Linked DNA regions of Homo sapiens: region 1 is linked to region 2. The links are contacts of gene promoters, found by promoter capture Hi-C in human tissues and cell types (Jung and others, 2019). All regions are on one chromosome and are shown on one strand. Each heading gives the region's core, a stretch centred on a gene start or on the middle of the fragment in contact. The rest is flanking DNA. Distances are from core to core; before and after follow the strand shown. Region 1 has its middle 51 kb from the start of CDH5. Region 2 holds the start of CDH5 (cadherin 5).

Region 1 (5,070 bases), core at 937-3,436, 51 kb before region 2:
AACAAGAGCAAAACTCTATCTCAAAAAAAAAAAAAAAAAGACAGGATTGATGGAGATGCCAGAGGGATCTCTTTCTCACCTGTGACCCAGCACTGTAAGCACCGTGCCTAGACTCCTAATAGCATCCCCCAGGACTCATCCACCTACAGTGCCATTTGGCCACCAGTGGAAAATGTTTCTCCATCCTGTCCTGGAATTCCAGGGTTCAACGCCATGTGTCTACTGCCCAGGCCCTATGGCCAAGTGCTCGATAGTCAGGCTCTCCCTCAAAGTGACCCCAAGGCCCAAGACCACAACCAGTGTCCACGCACACACCCGAATATCATACCCTGAGTCCCCACACATCTGAATGGCACCACCGTCTGCAAAGGGGCCCACACGGGAAAGAAGGAAGCTGTTTCTACCTCTCCCTTCATCCCAGCATCTGCTGATATTCCCTGAAAAAGTGCCAGGCTGTGAGCCAGTTAGGCAGGAATCAGGCATCTCCACCATCCCTGCTCTGATGGAGTTCTCAGTTCAATGACAAATAATGGCAGTGCACCCCAGACAGCTCTAACTGGGCTACAACAAAGGTCTGGAAGACAGACAAGGAAATTGTTGCTTAACTTGCAGGGAAAGGGATTGGAGAGGTTCACAAAGGAGGTGACGCTTACCTAGAGGTTAAGAAAGCCTCTCTCCCAAGGCAGGAGGATCACTTGAAGCCAGGAGTTCAAGACCAGTCTGGGCAACATGATGAGACCCCATCTCTACAAAAAATTAAAAAATAAGCCAGGCATGGTGGCTTTCGCCTGGAGTCCCAGCTACTCAGGAGGCTGAGATGGGAGGATCGCTTGAGCCAAGAAGTTCCAGGCTGCAGTGAGCCGTGATTGTGCCACCGTACTCCAGCCTAGGTGACAGAGAAAGATCCTGTCTCTGAATAAAAAAGAAAAGAAAAGAAAGCCTCTCTCTTCCATCCCCTGGTGACTGTTGATACAGGGCTGTGGATCACTTAGGGATGCCTGGCCCCATTTTGCAAATGAGGAAATAGAGAGCCAGCAGGTTTCAGTAACACAGCGTCACACTGGCCCTCCAGATGAAGCTGAGGTTGAAAGTCAGTTGCCAAATCTGTTTTCTTTCCCAATATTCCACTGTTTCTCAAATGGGCACTCAGCAAATGTTCAATGACTTGAATCAAATTCCTACATCTCCAAACTGGGTGAAAAGCACTTGAATGCAGGAGTCATTTCTTGTACTTCTTTCTCCCCCATCAGCCTCCAGTTCCCCCAGTGCCATGCCCACAGCACTGAGTGTACAGCTCCCTGCAGATCAGAGTTGTTTAATAAAATGAAGGTGTGAGAAGTGTTAAGAGCAGGGTAAAGAACAGGAAGAAGAGGAGGATGCCACAGAATATAGCCCTCGGCTGCCTTCTTGCTGGAGAGACAATGACCAGGACCTGGGGCAGGGGTCACAGGTGGGCATGGGAACCCCTCTAGAAGGTTTCCTGGAAACGGTCATTTTAAAGATAGTTGTGGGCCGGGCACAGTGGCTCACAACTGTAATCCCAGCACTTTGGGAAGCCAAGGTGGGCGGATCACATGAGGCCAGGAGTTTAAGACCAGCCTGGCCAACATGGCGAAACCGTGTCTCTACCAAAAATACAACAACTAGCTGGGTGTGGTGGCGCATGCCTATAATCCCAGCTACTTGGAAGGCTGAAGCATGAGAATCGCTTGAACCCAGGAGGCGGAGGTTGCAGTGAGCCAAGGTTGCACCACTTCACTCCAGACTGGGCAATAGAGTGAGACTCTGTCTCAAATTTAGAAAAATAATAATAACACTAAAGTCGGTTGTGTGTCTTCTGACTGTGGCCAGATAAAGTGGTTCACCCCTGTAATCCCACCACTTTGGGACGCTGAGGCTGGAGGATTGCTTGAACAAAGGAGTTTGAAACCAGCCTGGGCAACATGGTGAGACCCTCATCTCCACAAAAATATTAAAAAATTATCTGGGCATGGTGGTGCGTGCCTATAGTCCCAGCTCCTCAGGAGGCTGAGGTGGGAGTATCGCTTGAGCCCAAGAGTTTAAGGCTGCAACAAGCTATGATTTCACCACTGCACTCCAGCCAGAGTGACAAAGTGAGAGCCCCGTCTCAAAAAAAGAAAAAAATAATAACTGTGCTTTAAGAACTAGATTGGGCTTCTTCAATACTATCCACCTCTACCAGGCCAGTAGCCAGCCACTGGGTTCCCGTTTCAGCACCTCTTTCAGAATCTGGGAGGGAAAAGTCATTGATGCAGAACAATCCCCTTGGGTTTCACGCTGTGGGAGAGAAGCCTTTGCCGAGAACCTTGGTTCCCCCTAGTGGCCATCAGAGGCAGTAGCACCCAGCCAGTATGGAGTCATTTCTTGAAAGCAGGAAGAGAGGCCTCTGGCCAGAGAAGGAGAAAGGTCAAGTCCAGCCAGCCAGGACCTCCGGGCACTGCTCCTGGACCAGTCCCCAGCCTGAGACAGCCCACGGCAGTCAGTGACAGAGGGAGGGTCTGTGCAGACACCCATGGAAAATTCATTAACTCAGAATCTGAATGTTTATGAATGACCTTTTCCCCCAAAGAACTTTCATAACCAATGCTTTCGATATGATCTGGAAGTTGGAAATTAACAACACTACTATTGACACAAAGTGGGCTTTAAAAGTGCTTCTTACAAGATTTTTCTCCATATTCCTGTATCTAAACAATTGATAGTTTTTAATAGCCATCATTGAACCAATAGCAGCCACTTATTAAGGCATTTAGCAGCGTTTGCCATCTCCTTTTGCCATGGAGGTAAGAGGGAAAGTTGTCTGGTTTTTAGAAACAGTGTTTGTTTTGTTTTGTTTTGTTTTGTTTTTTGAGACAGTCTCACTGTGTCTCCAGGCTGGAGTGCAGTGGCGCAATTTCAGCTCACTGCAACCTCTGCCTCCCAGGTTCAAGCCATTCTTCTGCCTCAGCCTCCCCAGTAGCTGGGATTACAGGCACACTCCACCATGCCCAGCTAATTTTTCTATTTTTAGTAGAGACGGGGTTTCACTATGTTCGCCAGGATGGTCTCGATCTCTTGACCTCGTGGTCCACCCACCTTGGCCTCCCAAAATGCTGGGATTACAGACATAAGCCACCACGCCCGACCTAGAAACTGTTTTTGAGGGCAATTTTGGTACTGCTATTCAAGGGCCTGAGCCTCCCTTGAATTTCCCCCAACTCCCTGCAGGCTGGGCAGGAAATATAGTCAGGACCTTGCCCCATCCTCTCTGTCCGAGCCAGGCCCACTCCTTCCTGGTTGAGGAGCTCCCAGGCAGCCCAGTGAGCCCTGGGCTCAGTGAATTGTGCCAGACTTGGGGCAGGGAACATCTCCATGGCAGTGGTGCAGAGTGAACCACCCACAAAACAGCTCCTTGAGGAGAAATTGCCTTTGGAGTTTCAGCTCCTTAACTGCCTGTGCACGGCCCAGAAAACCTGCCAGAGGGTGATCTTCATTGAACTAGAGCAGCAGCAGGAAGGCCTTTGCTGAAGAGGCACAAATAACCCTCGCCAAGGCCCTTCTCAGGACCCTGCTGCTGCTGCTGCTGCTGCTGCAGATTGAGGGAGGAGGCGCCCAGGCACTGGTGATGGGTTTTCGGAAAACAGCTCCCACATCTGTGCCTTACACTAACTGGGGGCCCAACAGCTGGGCTGCTTCCAGAGGCAGGGCCAGGCCAGCAGTAGCAATAAGAAGCTTTAGAGGTGATTCGGTAGACGGCCCAGAATCCTGAATACATGGGGCATGATTGCATGCCAAGCGCTTTCTTTACATGCATTGTGGCATTTAAGCCCCCCAAAACTCCAGTGACAGAGGCTTTTAGGAACCCTATGTGAGAGACGAGGAGACTGTGGCATGGAGACATTAAGGAATTTATTCAAAGAGCGAAGTTGCAGAGGCAGAAGCAAACCCATGTCTATGTGACCACACACGACTCCCAGGTGCCAAACAGGCAGTGTCCACTCTTCTACCTCCAACCTCACCAGCCTTGCCCCTGGTTCATCCCAAAGCCGCTCACCACAGCCAATGCACAACCACATCTGTTCCCATCAGACATGGGTCCCACTTGTTGCCATCCGAAGGGCACAATGTCTCTCTCCATGAAGCTCACCAGTTTGCCCCGTGCAGATGGTGATTGTGATCGTGACTATGACTGTGTTCTTACTCATGGCCGGTGATCTCTCAGCAGCTGCCCTGGGTGAGGGAGGAGATGCAGACAGAACCTCTTTGCCGTACCCTCTGCCTGCCTTGGGTAAGGACTGGACCAGCTACTACTGGAAAAGCACCCCATAGGCCTCATCCTAAAGAAACCCACCCTCATCCACCCTCTTAACAACTGCCACAGGTGGGTTCTGAGCACTTAATACCTTGCCCTCCCCATCCTCAAGTCCTCCAAAAGCTCCTCTTGCTTTCAGGATAAAACCCAAGTTTCTGACCTCACGTAGCAGGTGTCTTATGATCTCACCTTCTCAGCCTCTCCAAGCTCACCTCCGCCCTGCACCCTTCCACCCACTAGTCATGCCAGTCAATGTGCCCTTCCCTGCGACATTGTCCACTGTCACCACTCCAGACATTTACACGCAGGCTTTCCTCTCTTTACAATGCACTTCCTTTCCATGAAGCTGTCTGCTGGGAAAAAGCTATTCAGCTTGCAAACTCTGGCTCAGGGGTTTTTCCCCTGAGAAGGCTTCCGTGGGGTCCCCTCCCCACTAACCTCCAGGCACAGAAAAGGGTTCTCTTCTCCTGGCCGCTCTCCTCAACACCTAGTGCATCCATCTCTGTACTTCGCTCTCACCTCTGTATTTTCAACATTGGTGTACATGCGTTTCCCCTGGTCTGTGAGCTCCTGGAGAGCAGGGCAGTGCTTGAGCAAGTGCTATATTCTGGGACCCTAATCTGGCCTGGACAGTGATTGACACTAAAAGAATTGTGTTGATTGAGTGAGCAGGAAGAGGGCGTTGCAGTGGTCCAAGAAGGGAAGATGTGGGGAGGGTCTGGATGAAGTCAGTGGCACTGGAGGTGGCAACAGAGAGC
Region 2 (5,688 bases), core at 3,112-5,611:
CTCTTTTAATTCCCTGGATCCCCATTCCCAGGCTGGCGCAGAACTGGGCACCAACCAGGACTGAGAGACTGGTTGATTGATTGATTGCCTGATTGACTGATTTGGTGACTCCTTGAAGCCTTAGGAAAAAGGACCCACTGTCCATCAGAATATACCACAGAACACAGGTACACACCCAGCCCCGCACCTCGTGTCTGCCTCAACATACCAGTGTTTCATCCGCTTGTTCATTCACTATTCACGCATTCATTCATTCATTCATTCATTCATTCATTCAAACAGTGGGCTCTTCCTCCCTGCCTGACGGCCACCTTGAGCTCAGATCCAGGCACCCCAAAGTGAGCCTAGCCCAGTTTCTGCTCGGAGGAGTTCTCAGCTGGGCCTGCAGCTCTCATCACAAGCTTTCTGTTCCTTGTAGAATCACAGCTGAGGATGAGACCCCTCCCTGCTCCTCCTTCCCGCTCTTCCTCCTTCTGAGCCCCTTCTGAGACTACCTCAGGTGAGCAGCCCTATTTTATGTTCCCTGGAGGTGTGTCCGCCCCTCAGCACAGCACAGCCAGCTGGGCAAAAGGGTTTTTCCTTTGCCCGTAACTGAGCAGATGGGCTCATCAAGCCCTCTGCCATCAGACCATCACCTGCCTTAGAACACAAAACACTCGACTCTCCCCCCAGTCTCTCTGACCCGGGGAGCAGCGGGCTGACTGCCGGTTCTAATGAGTGCACAGTTTCAAGTTCACATTTGGGGAGCACTCACCTATTACCAGGTGCTGGGGATAAGCACCCAAATAGGACACAATCCCGGTGGGAAAGGAGAGGAGGGTTGTGAATGAGGTCTGTATAAAGTGCCCTGGGAGCTCAGAAGAGGGAGTGGAGTGTAGAGACAATGAGATCTGGGTGGCTCTGCCAGGGCTCTGCGCACAGGCGAGGAAGGAGAGAGAAGGAAACACACAAGGTGGAACAGCATGGGCAAAGTCCTGAGGCGTGAGGCTGCAGGGCTTCACCACGACCGCCCCTGCCAAGCTGATGGCATCGTTTTCCTGCCCCATCCTTGGGTGTCTCACGCTGTGGGGAGGAAGGAAAAGGAAGTCTTATTTGGGGAACCCCTGCTGTGTCCCGACTCAATTACAGCAGGGCAGGAAAGCTCCCTGGGTAAGGAGCTGGGCTCTGGAAACAGAAGCGTGGCTCGGAATTTCCGCCCCACCACTGACAAACTCTGATCTCAGAAAGGCTTTCACTCCCAGCCTCTGTTTTCCCATCTGTAAAATGGGCCTAACAGTAGTACCACCCCCGCAGGGTTGTCCTGAGGTTTGAATGAGGAGTCCCAAGGAGAGCTTAGTGCATTAGCAGCAGACACAAAGGCTGTGGTCCTCAAATGTAACAACACAAACACGTTTCCTGGGGAGCTACAAACACATAAGTCCTGGGATTCTATCACCAGCCATTCTGACCCCATCAGCCTGGAGTGGGGCCCAAGAAATCTGCATATTCACTCCCCCTCTCCCAGGATGGATGGCTTGAAGACCACACTTTGAGAAACAGCCACTCGATAAGGCTTGCTGGTCCTGTCATTTATTTTCATTGTCTCATTTCATCTTCCAAACGGCCTGCAAAGTCTGAACAGATAACTCATTTCACAGGTGAGGAAAGAAGCTCAGAGAGGCAAGTCGGCTGCCCAGGTCATGCAGGCAGCAACGGGTCATGCTAGGATCCAAACCTGGGTCTGCAACCCCCACACCTGTACCTCCCCAAGCAGCGCTCCCTGTCGGGTCAGGCTTCCTCCTGGCAGAGGCCAGGTGGGCGTCCCCAGGCCTTGTCGTCCCACCCGCCATCCCACCCCCACTGCCTCCACTGTTGCTTCCTCCTCTGCTACTAATCTGGTCTCACAGACCATCCCATTTCCTGCTAGCCCACCAGCCGCCTTCCTTGCTCCCAATGACACTTCCTGGCCTTGTGCCCTCCTGTTACCTCCTTTGCCTCCAGAGAGGTTGGAGCAGAGGCTGGGCAGTGCCAGAAATCAGGCATGAAATCCTCAGGGGGACCAAGGAGGCACCAGCCTCCCTCCCACAGTCTCAGCTACCTCTGCTACGGTGACCCCCAGCCCCACCCCTGGGGCCCACAGCTCATGCCTGGCTCACCATTCCTTTGTTTATGGACCACAGGAACAGTCGTTTTCAGGGCAGAGTCAACTTCCTCATGGACTGGGAGTACAAAGGGAATTGGCAGATGGTGCCAGGACAGGCCCTGTCCCCATCTGCCACAGCCCCGAGTCTGAGACCCAGCAGGAAGCAATGCACAGGCCAGTGTATCCCCATGGGCACGTAGACCATGAGGACAGGCGGGGGTGAGGGGGATGTGGACTGGAACACAGGGGACAGAGCACTGTCCTGGCTCCTCTGCGGCCAACCCCCCCTCTGGGCAGGAGAAAGCAGAGTTAATCCCATTGGAGAAGGAAGCGCTGAGCTGTTGTTTGTTCATTCCACAATCGGCTGTTGAATGTGTTGGATCCCACTCAGAATTCCGCCCCAAGGACTGTTCTCCTTCCAGCAGGTCGCTCCTCAGTCTCCAGCATCATCTGTCTTCCCGTCTGCTGGATGCTCCCTGGGGACATGAGCGTGCTGCCATAGTTAAAAAAAAAAAAAAAAAAAAAAAAAAAAAACCCTCCCACTTCTCTGCTCCCATTCACTGTAAGACTTGGGGAAGAAGCTACAGTCACACGTGACTCCACATCCCCGTCCCCCTTTCTCCCCTTTCTCTAGCCCCTCCAATCTGTCTTGTCTACCTTTTCCTGTTTAACCTGTTCTGGTCACAGTCATTGATGACCTCATCTTCCAAATCCAAAGTTAAGTCTCAGCCCTCATGCTCCCCAGGCTGACCCACTGACTACTCCCCTGCCCTCCTCCTCTGCCCTCTCCTGGCATTCCTCCTTCATCATGGGACCCTCTTCTAATGGATCCCCAAATGTCAGAGGGTCCAAGTCCTCCCTCCCTCCAAGCTCATCCATGCCCATGGCCTCAGATGCCAGCCATAAGCTGTTGGGTTCCAAACCTCGACTCCAGGCTGGACTCACCCCTGTCTCCCCCACCAGCCTGACACCTCCACCTGGGTATCTAACGAGCATCTCAAACTCAACCTGCCTGAGACAGAGGAATCACTATCCCCTCCTCCTCCAAAAATATCCTTCCATCACACTCCCCATCTTGTGCTCTGATTTACTAAACGGCCCTGGGCCCTCTCTTTCTCAGGGTCTCTGCTTGCCCAGCTATATAATAAAACAAGTTTGGGACTTCCCAACCATTCACCCATGGAAAAACAGAAGCAACTCTTCAAAGGACAGATTCCCAGGATCTGCCCTGGGAGATTCCAAATCAGTTGATCTGGGGTGAGCCCAGTCCTCTGTAGTTTTTAGAAGCTCCTCCTATGTCTCTCCTGGTCAGCAGAATCTTGGCCCCTCCCTTCCCCCCAGCCTCTTGGTTCTTCTGGGCTCTGATCCAGCCTCAGCGTCACTGTCTTCCACGCCCCTCTTTGATTCTCGTTTATGTCAAAAGCCTTGTGAGGATGAGGCTGTGATTATCCCCATTTTACAGATGAGGAAACTGTGGCTCCAGGATGACACAACTGGCCAGAGGTCACATCAGAAGCAGAGCTGGGTCACTTGACTCCACCCAATATCCCTAAATGCAAACATCCCCTACAGACCGAGGCTGGCACCTTAGAGCTGGAGTCCATGCCCGCTCTGACCAGGAGAAGCCAACCTGGTCCTCCAGAGCCAAGAGCTTCTGTCCCTTTCCCATCTCCTGAAGCCTCCCTGTCACCTTTAAAGTCCATTCCCACAAAGACATCATGGGATCACCACAGAAAATCAAGCTCTGGGGCTAGGCTGACCCCAGCTAGATTTTTGGCTCTTTTATACCCCAGCTGGGTGGACAAGCACCTTAAACCCGCTGAGCCTCAGCTTCCCGGGCTATAAAATGGGGGTGATGACACCTGCCTGTAGCATTCCAAGGAGGGTTAAATGTGATGCTGCAGCCAAGGGTCCCCACAGCCAGGCTCTTTGCAGGTGCTGGGTTCAGAGTCCCAGAGCTGAGGCCGGGAGTAGGGGTTCAAGTGGGGTGCCCCAGGCAGGGTCCAGTGCCAGCCCTCTGTGGAGACAGCCATCCGGGGCCGAGGCAGCCGCCCACCGCAGGGCCTGCCTATCTGCAGCCAGCCCAGCCCTCACAAAGGAACAATAACAGGAAACCATCCCAGGGGGAAGTGGGCCAGGGCCAGCTGGAAAACCTGAAGGGGAGGCAGCCAGGCCTCCCTCGCCAGCGGGGTGTGGCTCCCCTCCAAAGACGGTCGGCTGACAGGCTCCACAGAGCTCCACTCACGCTCAGCCCTGGACGGACAGGCAGTCCAACGGAACAGAAACATCCCTCAGCCCACAGGCACGGTGAGTGGGGGCTCCCACACTCCCCTCCACCCCAAACCCGCCACCCTGCGCCCAAGATGGGAGGGTCCTCAGCTTCCCCATCTGTAGAATGGGCATCGTCCCACTCCCATGACAGAGAGGCTCCTCGAGGGCACGCTGGGCCTCCTCGTGGCTCAGAGCAGGGTCGGGGAAGGTGCACCCAGAGGTAGTGCCAAGGGCACAAATGGGCATCTCGGGGCTGAGGGGGGCAGGGCAAGGGCTTGGCTCTCCCAGAAGTGTATTCTCCAACTCAAAAAGGCCCACTGGCCTTCATCAGTGCCAGGCTCAGAGAGGGCAGTATTCTGCCCCAGTTGCCCAGCATGCCGGGGCAGAGGACTGGCACCCAGGCCTTGGCCTCCCCTCGGTGCCTTACCCTTACTGGAGAGGATTTACCAAGGCCTGACACCAGCCTCCTCAGCCCCCTACCCATACGCCACTAAAGCTCTATGCTGGGATCTGGGGAGGGGCCCTGAAAAGGAAGCTCCGAGCCTTGGCCCCTCTCGGTCAGCCAGTGCCCCCATTTCAGGATAGGCAAGCTGAGGCTTGGCTCTGGGCACTTGAGGTCTTGCCTTTCCCTCTGGGCCTTTCCCTGCCCAAACACCATCGGGGCCCACTATGTGTCAAGGGAGCTGTAGTCTGGACAGCGGTCCACCATTCCTCCCACCAGCACCCTTTCAAAGGCTAGAGCATAAGAGCCCCAAGGCCCCCACAGCCCAGGAAGTCCCCCAGAAGCAGGAGGTCTGGGCCAAGAGCCTGGCCTGGAGACAGCTGCCCTGGGTACAGATCCCAGCTCTCCCATTTGCTCTGGGGTGACCTTGGGAAAGTTACCCAGAGTTTCCAAACCACAGTGGGGAACAAGGGATGGTGTGGGGCTCATTATTTTACCATTAACAACTCCACAAGGTAGATACATTCTTTCTTTATATCTCAGTGAAAGCAACTGAGCTTTGGAAACATATGAGCTGGTGTGGGGATTTGAACCAGGATCTCGTACTCCAAAGCCCCAGCTCTCCCCAGGTCTCAAGTGTCTCATCTGTGAAATGGGGAAACAGTGTTTCCTCAGTCAATTGAGTGAAGTGAGCTACATCCCTGGTGCTGGGAATGGCACATAACATGAGATCTTTAAGGAATAGTGGCTGGATTTACCAGCTAGCACAGAGCCGATCCTGGTTGTGAATGTGATAAAGATTTTGGCCCTTGAGGTATGGTCAAACCCCATCACGGAGGGGTCCTCAGGTGCC

Evidence for each region. The method cuts DNA at HindIII sites, captures the fragments that hold promoters and counts their contacts. A contact is called where the count stands out against the background at its distance.
Region 1: a contact is called between a fragment that was not itself captured here and the fragment with the promoter of CDH5 in region 2, in 1 of the 25 tissues and cell types used here (spleen).

What each region holds. Positions count from the first base shown.
Region 1 is chr16:66,313,076-66,318,145 of GRCh38, forward strand. No RefSeq gene overlaps it. Among named protein-coding and RNA genes, the nearest start is that of CDH5, 51 kb to the right of the region's middle. The HindIII fragment of the contact is 5,037 bases long and covers 1-4,705 here.
Region 2 is chr16:66,362,330-66,368,017 of GRCh38, forward strand. It overlaps CDH5 (cadherin 5), which reads left to right and starts at 4,362. Exons shown (of 12, transcript NM_001795.5): 1 at 4,362-4,429. LOC105371318 (a long non-coding RNA gene) reads right to left here. Exons shown (of 3, transcript XR_933687.3): 3 at 1,851-2,598. RefSeq lists enhancers at 4,255-4,804, 5,615-5,688. The HindIII fragment of the contact is 33,771 bases long and covers 1-5,688 here.